Regions from separate parts of the Homo sapiens genome. Here all the other regions are linked to region 3. Evidence: promoter capture Hi-C in 16 types of primary human blood cells and fetal thymus (Javierre and others, 2016). All regions are on one chromosome and are shown on one strand. The core of a region is centred on a gene start or on the middle of the fragment in contact, and the rest is flanking DNA. Distances in the headings are between cores, read along the strand shown. Region 1 overlaps JAKMIP2 (janus kinase and microtubule interacting protein 2). Region 2 has its middle 21 kb from the start of JAKMIP2-AS1. Region 3 holds the start of STK32A (serine/threonine kinase 32A).

What was found. The method cuts DNA at HindIII sites, captures the fragments that hold promoters and counts their contacts. A CHiCAGO score of 5 or more calls a contact.
Region 1: a fragment that was not itself captured here is called in contact with the fragment with the promoter of STK32A in region 3 in 1 of 17 cell types (endothelial precursors); the score reaches 10.0 in endothelial precursors.
Region 2: a fragment that was not itself captured here is called in contact with the fragment with the promoter of STK32A in region 3 in 3 of 17 cell types (M2 macrophages, M1 macrophages and M0 macrophages); the score reaches 5.7 in M2 macrophages.

Annotation. Positions count from the first base shown.
Region 1 is chr5:147,594,127-147,596,826 of GRCh38, forward strand. All of the region lies in intron 21 of JAKMIP2 (janus kinase and microtubule interacting protein 2), which reads right to left. JAKMIP2-AS1 (JAKMIP2 antisense RNA 1) reads left to right here. Exons shown (of 4, transcript NR_038902.1): 2 at 234-351; 3 at 1,314-1,414. Among named protein-coding and RNA genes, the nearest start is that of JAKMIP2-AS1, 35 kb to the left of the region's middle. The HindIII fragment of the contact is 911 bases long and covers 818-1,728 here.
Region 2 is chr5:147,538,062-147,540,761 of GRCh38, forward strand. No RefSeq gene overlaps it. Among named protein-coding and RNA genes, the nearest start is that of JAKMIP2-AS1, 21 kb to the right of the region's middle. The HindIII fragment of the contact is 4,823 bases long and covers 1-2,700 here.
Region 3 is chr5:147,233,741-147,236,440 of GRCh38, forward strand. It overlaps STK32A (serine/threonine kinase 32A), which reads left to right and starts at 1,286. Exons shown (of 13, transcript NM_001112724.2): 1 at 1,286-1,459. It overlaps STK32A-AS1 (STK32A antisense RNA 1), which reads right to left and starts at 1,119. Exons shown (of 4, transcript NR_147190.1): 1 at 973-1,119. The HindIII fragment of the contact is 14,744 bases long and covers 1-2,418 here.

The DNA of each region.
Region 1 (2,700 bases), core at 23-2,522, 360 kb after region 3:
TGAATTGAGAAGTACTTGTAAAAGGAACTATTATTTCTATAGTGAAGCCAGATTTATTCAAATTAGCATTCTGAGTTATTGCAGTTACCCAGTGGGTAACAGGAGTTCTTTTTAACAGGTTGCATAACAGTGCTACAATTTAGTTTCCTCATCTGTGGAAAACAGCAATTGCCACTATCATTTTTGAGACTTTACTGCATGCTACAAATTCTTTTTTTTTCTTTTTGATACAGGGTCTTGCTTTGTTGCTCAGGATGGAGTACAGTGGTGCAATCTTGTCTCACTGCAGCATCGACCTCTGGGGCTTAAGCCATCCTTGCACTTCAGCCTCCCAAGTAGCTGGTACTACAGGTATGTGCCCCCATACCCAGCTAGTTTTTGTACTTTTGTAGAGATGGGATTTCACCATGTTTCCCAGGCTGGTCTTAAACTCCTGGGCTCAAGTGATCCACCTGCCTCAGCCTCTCAAAATGCTGTGATTACAGAGCCACTGTGCCCAGCTAATGCCACAAACTCCAAGTCTTGAGTACGGTGATGTGGCTTCTGACTTGTGGTTGTAGCATCTGTAAGGGCACCACCGTTTAACCAGTTACACCATCTAGGAACACAAGGGCCATCTCTGACACCTTCCACTCCTCACCCTTTATATGCAATTTGTCATAAAGTATTCAATAAATGGTAGCTATTAATATTACCTCCACAATACAGATGAGTACACTGAGACTGAAGATTATTAAATAATTGGTCCATAAAAATCCTGGTAGGGAAGACATAATAATATTGTATGAAATGTAACTGAAGCTGGAGGATCAGGGAAAGCTTCCCTGATTTTCCACTGAGACGGGAAGGATGAATGGGTATCAACCATTTAATGGTGATGTGGGAAATGTGGTCCCAGAAGATGGAAGCACATCTTGAAAGGCATGATTCAAGACAGAATGCTTGGTATGTCTACAGACTTGACCTTTAATGAGCCTTTCTATGTGCCAACTACTAAACTAGTTGCTTTACCTGTATAATATTACTCAATCCTCAGAAAAATAATGGGTGCTATTACTTGCTAATTTTTTATATTAGAAAATTAACGTTTGGAGAGTGCTATATTTTGAATGTTTTTGTCCCCTCCAAAATTCATGCTGAAAGTTAATCCCCAGTGCAAGAGTATTAACAGGTGAGGCTTTTAGGAGGTTATTAGGCCATGAGTGCAGAATGGATGAGGGATTAGTGCCTTATGAAAGAGCTGGAGAGAACTAACTTAGGCTCTTTTGCCCCTCTGTTCCTTCTGTCCTGTGACACAGCTTTGCCCCCTCCAGGGGATGCAACAACAAGGCGCCATCTTGGAAGTAGACACCAGGCCCTCACCAGACACCAAACCTGCTGGTGCCTCGATCTTCAATTTCCAGCCTCCAGAGTGGTGAGCAATACATTACTATTACTCATAAATTACCTAGTCTCAGGTATTTTGTTATAATAGCACAAATGGACTAAGACAGAGAGTTATAATGGTCTCCATTATGCAGAATTGTTGTAAGTATTACATAAAATAATAAATATAAATGTACCTTTTGAACTGTAAAGCAAGTTGTACTCTCCTTCCTTATTGAAATATCATTAATATTATTTTAAAAGTATTTATTGATTGTTGACTATGTGCTAGACACTGTTGGTTATGTGCTAGGTATTTGGTATACAAGGTTGAACAAAATTATATGGTCATTATCTGCATCAAGCTTATTTACAATGAGAAAGAGTGACATTAATTAAAAAAATGTGTATTTATATATATATTTCCCCAATGTATGTAAAATTTGTTCAGAAAGGAAGTCAAGAAAGATGCCCTTGTGGGAATCACAACTGAACTGAGATCCGAAGGATAGGTGAGTAGTAGGTGTTTACTAGTTAAAGCAGAAGGGAAGCATTCTGTGCACCAAGTCAGCTTGGGCAAACCCTGTGGAAGGCAGGAAGGCACATGGTTCATTAAGGGAAACTGGAGCAACAGGAAGCCTGAGAGATTGCCCGTGTGGTTAGACCATGCAGGGCTTTGTTGGCCAAGTTAAAAAATTCAAATTTGATCTTTTTTTTTTTTTAACTTGTTATCAATAGATTGGTTGAAGGAACTTGATCCTAACACAGTGATATTTTCCTAGGATGGGGGTCAAGGTAAGGTTTGCCTTTCTAAAACTCACTCTAACTGCTGTGTGGAGAATGAGTTATAAGAATGTCTATAGTGGAAGCACTGAGCCCAGTTAGTGGGCTACTTCAGCTGTGGAGGAGGGGATAATATATTTGTTTATGTCCTCTTTCCTTTGTCAATGCATTCTTTAAGGTAGTCTTCAAATGGTATATAAAAAAACAAATTGAATATGAGTTATCTTTGAAAGATACGACAACTCTATTCATGGTTCTGATCTAACATATCCCAAATCTGCTTTCATATTCATTTTCCCAGCTATTCATTCATCCATCTGCCTCTCAGTTCATCTGTCAATCTGAAATTTATTCTGCACCTAGGATAGATAAGGCACTGTTATAGACACTAAAGATACAAAGATGAATAAAACATAACTCCTACCCTATGCTTTATTAGTACAATTTGTGAGACAAATAGGGAAACAATTTATATATGACTGGATAAAGCTAATGGATATATTTACACAAAAAGGAATTACTAACTGGCATAAACTGATTCATCTTAGACTT
Region 2 (2,700 bases), core at 95-2,594, 300 kb after region 3:
CAAGTGGAATCTCTGCTCAAAAATGTTGTATTCTAAAGTTTATTGCAAGTAAACATATTTTATCAGCTTATACTGACTTTTTGCAATAAACTTGCCCACAATTACACTATTAATTGGTTTGTCCAATGACCAAAATGAAGTTTGGAAAGCAGAAAGTCACTGTTCCCTAAAAGGATTCTGAGTTTTCTGGTGCTTTAACCACAGTTTCTGAATTTCTTTGAAACAGTTTTAACTCTCTGCTTTGGCATGTGTTTCTGTCATGTACCTAAGTCCTTGAGTTCATTCACTACAAGGCTCTGGCTTTGATCTCCAGCTCTTTCCACCTAAATGAATTTCCTCTTGTGACCCTAGTCTCTGCCTCCCTCCTGGTGGGAGTGGATGTTGTGGTTATTTTCCCACATTCTTCCCATGTTCATTCTGTTTTCTCTGTGTCAGTCCTTTGGGCAATTGGCCCTAAAGCAGCTCTAGAGGCAATTCCTGATTAATCTAATCTGTCCTACACTTGCTCACCACTCCATTGAAGCTGCTTCGATCATGTCATCAATGACCTCCATTTTGTTAAATCCAATAATCAATTCTCAGCTCTCAACCTCTTAATAGCATTTGGCATAGTTAATTACATGTTCTTCCTGGATATACTTCCTTCACTTGGTTTTCAAGACCTAATCAAGAAAATGGAAACTGCTGCTCGTGGTGGCTCATGCCTGTAATCCCAGCACTTTGGGAGGCCGAGGCAGGTGAATCACCTGAGGTCAGGAGTTCCAGACCAGCCTGGGCAACATGGTGAAACCCTCTGTCTATTAAAAATACAAAAATTAGCCAGGCATGGTGGCGGGCACCTGTAGTCCTAGCTACTTGGGAGGCCGAGGCAGGAGGATTGCTTGAACCTGAGAGGCGGAGGTTGCAGTGAGCTGAGATCGTGTCATTGAACCACTACACTCCAGCCTGGGTGACAGAGTGAGAGCCCATCTCAAAAAACAACAACAACAACAACAAACCCAGAAACTATTCTTAGTATTTGACCAGAGGGAACTTAATGCAGGGTCTTGAGGACACAGATGACAAAAGAGCTAAAAAGCCAAATGGGACATAGTGAGGCAGACATTGGCAACAGCAGAAACACAATACCAACTTGGGCTGGAGGAATAAAGACGAGAGAAGCTGGTAGCAGAGTCCATGGGCTGGGGTGACTCATCAGAAGCTGGAACTATGCATGGTTTGGCTGGCAGAAGCTGGAGCCAGGGAAGAGATACAACTACTATTAGAGATACTATACCAGAGAGGGGGATATAGCCCCTGGTTTATCCTTTGCTTTTTCTCTCCTATTTCTAGTCACTGCCCTCAGTAAACTAATCCCAGCTGGAAACCAGCTAACAGGAGAGTCTTGGAAAAGCAGCCTGCAGGTGTCAATCCACTGCAGAACAGACCACAGTGGGGAAAAGATGAGGAATAGGTTGAGGGTCGACAGGTCCAAGTCTGACACATCCAACTTCTTTTGTTTGTTTGTTTTGTTTGTTTTTTGAGACAGGGTCTCACTCTCTTGCCCAGACTGGAGTTCAGTGGCATGATCTCGGTTCACCGCAACCTCTGCCTCCCAGGCTCAAGCGATTCTCCTGCCTCAGCCTCCCGAGTAACTGGGATTACAGGCATACGCCATTACCGCCCAGCTAATTTTTGTATTTTTAGTAGAGACGGGGTTTCACCATGTTGACCAGGCTGGTCTCAAACTCCTGACCTCAAATAACCCACCTGCCCCAGCCTCCCAAAGTGCTAGGATTATAGGCATAAGCCACCATGCCTGGCCTAACTTCTTTATCCCCTACTTTACTGGTTGCTCCTTCTCAGTCTTCCAGCTGGCTCCTACTCTTCTCCCTAACCTCTTAATGTCAAGGTGTCCTAAAGCTCAGTTGTTCTATCTTCTGTTCTGGTATTCACAGATAGATGTTTAGTACCACTGCCCTCCCTCTCAGCCTTACATATAACAATTTATTGCTACTTCTCATATTTCTGTGGGTTGACTAGGCTTAGTTGAGTAGTTCTCTCTTGGGATCTATCATGAAGTTTGTGGCAAACACTGTGATTTATCAATCAGATCCCACTTTAAAAATGAAGAGCAGGTCAGGCATAGTGGCAGATGCCTGTAATCCCAGCATTTTGGGAAGCTGGAGCAGGGGATCAATTGAGCCAAGGAGTTTGAGACCCGCCTGAGCAACAAAGCCAGATCCCATATCTACGAATTTTTGTTTTTAAATAGCTGAGTGCAATGGCATGTGTCTGTAGTCCCAGCAGCTCTGAAGGCTGATCGGGGAGGATCCCTTGAACCCAGGAGTTCAAGGTTGCAGTGAGCTATGACCTTGCCACTGCATGCCAGCCTGGGTGACAGAGCAAAATCCTGACACCCGCCCCCCACCCAAAAAATATATATAGTCTCAGTTGCTGGGAGTATGGCTGACAGTTGGCCCTCAGCTGTCAGTCTCTTTCAGGAAATGCCTCAGCTTATGTAGGCCACCTCATCCAAGGTTTCCCACCCCACTCAAGGTAGCTCACATCCAGTGACTGATGATATGGGGATATAAAGCCCAGCCTTCTCATTCCTTAAGAAATTAGGTAGACACAAACCACTTATTTATTGATGGGACAGTAGAATTGTTCAGGTACAGACAAGAGATAGATCTAACAAGGTAGGCACTCCAAACATAT
Region 3 (2,700 bases), core at 36-2,535:
GTACAGAACGCATTTCTTATTGTTCTTAATATCCAGGTCGAAAGGAGATAACATTACTTTTAATATAATAAGGGTGGTACACCCTGCCTGTGATATGATTCCTAAAATCTAGAAGAAGAGAGAATGATATTACTTCCAATAATACACTGGGTGTGCAACCCCCTTTGATATTGTTCCTAATATCTAAAGAAAGAGATGATGATATTACTCCCAATACTGTAGAAGGTATACACCGTCCTGTGATATTGTTCCTAATAACTAGTGGGTGAGGGCATGATATTATTTCAAATATCGCAGTGGCTTTACACCCCTTCCGTGATATTTCTCCTAATTTCCAGGGGGTGGAGTACGAAGTTACTCCCAATATAGTAGTGGGTGTACACCCACGCTGTCACATTTCTACGAATATTCAGGGAAACACAGCACGATAGAACTCCAAGTCTCGCAAAGAGTGTACACCATTTTGTGATATTGTTCCTAATAACCGGAGGTGGATAGGATGCTGTTAGTTTCAATATCGCAGGCTGTGTACACACACACTGTGAAATTGTTTCTAATGTCCAAGAGGGGAGAGAATGCTATTAATTCCCATATAGCAAGAGGGTGAGGCACACCCCGCCATATGGGGAGTAATAGGACCCCCCCTCCCTCCCTGGCTACTACGAGCCACATCGCTGGGGTGTGAGGCACCCTCCTGCCATATGGGGATTAATAGCGTCCCCCTTTCCCCCCCGACTATTACGATCCACATCGCAGGGGAGTGAGGCTTCCCCCGCGATATGAGGAGTAATAGCACCGCCCTCTCCCCCTCAACCCCCCGGCTTTTAGGATCCACATCGCAGGGGGGTGAGGCACCCCCGGCGATATGGAGAGTAATAGCACCCCCCTTCTCCCCCCCCCCCCCCCCCGGCTATTACGATCCACATCGCAGGGGGGGTGAGGCAGTTCCCGTGATATGGGGCGTAATAGTACCCGCTGTGCGTCCTGGTGGCTCCGGACCCGGCCCAAGCGCGGCGGGACCTCCATCCGTAGCCCTCTCCCCCAACGTCGCCCTCCCGGGGTCCTTGTCTAGTCTCAGCAGGCGGCAAACGGACCCCAGGCGTCTGGCGCTCACCCAGGAGACTGCCCAGCGGTTTCTGGAGAGAGCGCTAAGCGGAGACGCCCGCTGGCAAGCAGATCCCGCCTCCTTCCCTGGCCAAGGAGCCGCCCCTCCGGGGTAGCTGTGCGCTGGGCGGCGCTCGGACCCCTTGGCAGCCGCAGGTGCCTCCCCAGCCCAGCCCAGCTCAGTCCAGCGCAGCCCAGCCCAGCCCAGCCCGGCGCTCGCAGCCTCCGCCGCTTCCGGGCAGATAGGTGCCTTTTCTTGCTCCTTGCTCTTGGAGTTCTTCTCTTAGTCCCTGTTCCCTGGATGAAAGCATCGCTCCGAGCCTCATGGGAGGAATGAAGGAAGAATCGAGACTAGGTGAGTGGTGGTCTAGATTTAACGAATAATAACAATAAACCTGCATACTAAGGGTACTGTTGGGAAGCTAGGAAGTGCAAGGAGAAGAGAAGACAAAGGCTGCTGATCAAGATAACTCACAAAACTAAATGCAGGCTAGGGCCAATTCCAGCTATTTTGCACTCCATCCAGGTTCCCCTGCCTGGCACTGACTCATGTGCAGACCCAGACAGACTTCAATAAATATTTGCTGGGTTGAGACAAGTGAGTGGAGGTGTTTCTGCTTGTTCTCCAGCATCTAAACAAGCAAAACCTAGCTGCCTTTGATGATTGCTTCATCTCCACAAGGACTTTTTCCCCCAGGACTTAAAAAATAAAATGTGGTGTATTCACACAACGGACTGCTATGCAGCACTTAAAAAGCTAAAATCAGAGCTGTAGGGATCAGCATGCCTGTACCTAGATTTCAGAAGTATGATGGCAGATAGACACAGCAAGATGCAAAATATATCCACTCTCTCATGCCATTTAGGTGACTTATTTTAAGACACTTGTCATGTTTGTAAAATCATAGAAGGGGGACTGTAAAATGTTTATCACATCCGTGATTGTGGCTGTCTTTGGAAAGTGTGAAAGGGAAATCAATTGGACTTTAGGATTAAGGTGGAAATAATATTTCCCTAAAATGCTTTAAAAATAAAAATGATGATATAAAGATGACCAAATATAAACAATTGTTAACTGAGAGTGTTATTAACTTGGGCATTTTTCATGTTTTTGCCCCCTATTTTTAAAATATTTCTTAAACTAAGAAGTTCTGTTTTTCAAATGCAAACAAAATAAGTTGTGTCTATGCACATTCTGTGACAATGAAACCTAAAATGTTTAATCAAAAGTTGCAACTTTCTTGCATCACCTCCTATGTTTTCCAATCCTAGAAGACCACACCTCTTTATCTAGGGAGGCTTGGTGGTTAGAGAAGCTTACCTGTTGACAACCCCCAAATTACAGGCCAAAGATGAAAGGTTGGTATTAGGGAACTATTTCCCAGTTAATAATCTGATAATCGGCCAGGTCAGGGTAGACTCTGAAAACTCCCTGTGTCCCTGCAAGACAAATTTCTCCTCCTTTTACATTTCATATGCTTTGGATTTTCATTTTCATGGATGGTAGCTGTCCTCTTCACATCTCAAAATGATGCTTAGGTAACACTGCAGACCTAGTGCCTGGAGATCAGGAAGGGCTGGGGGGTTGGTAAAAGA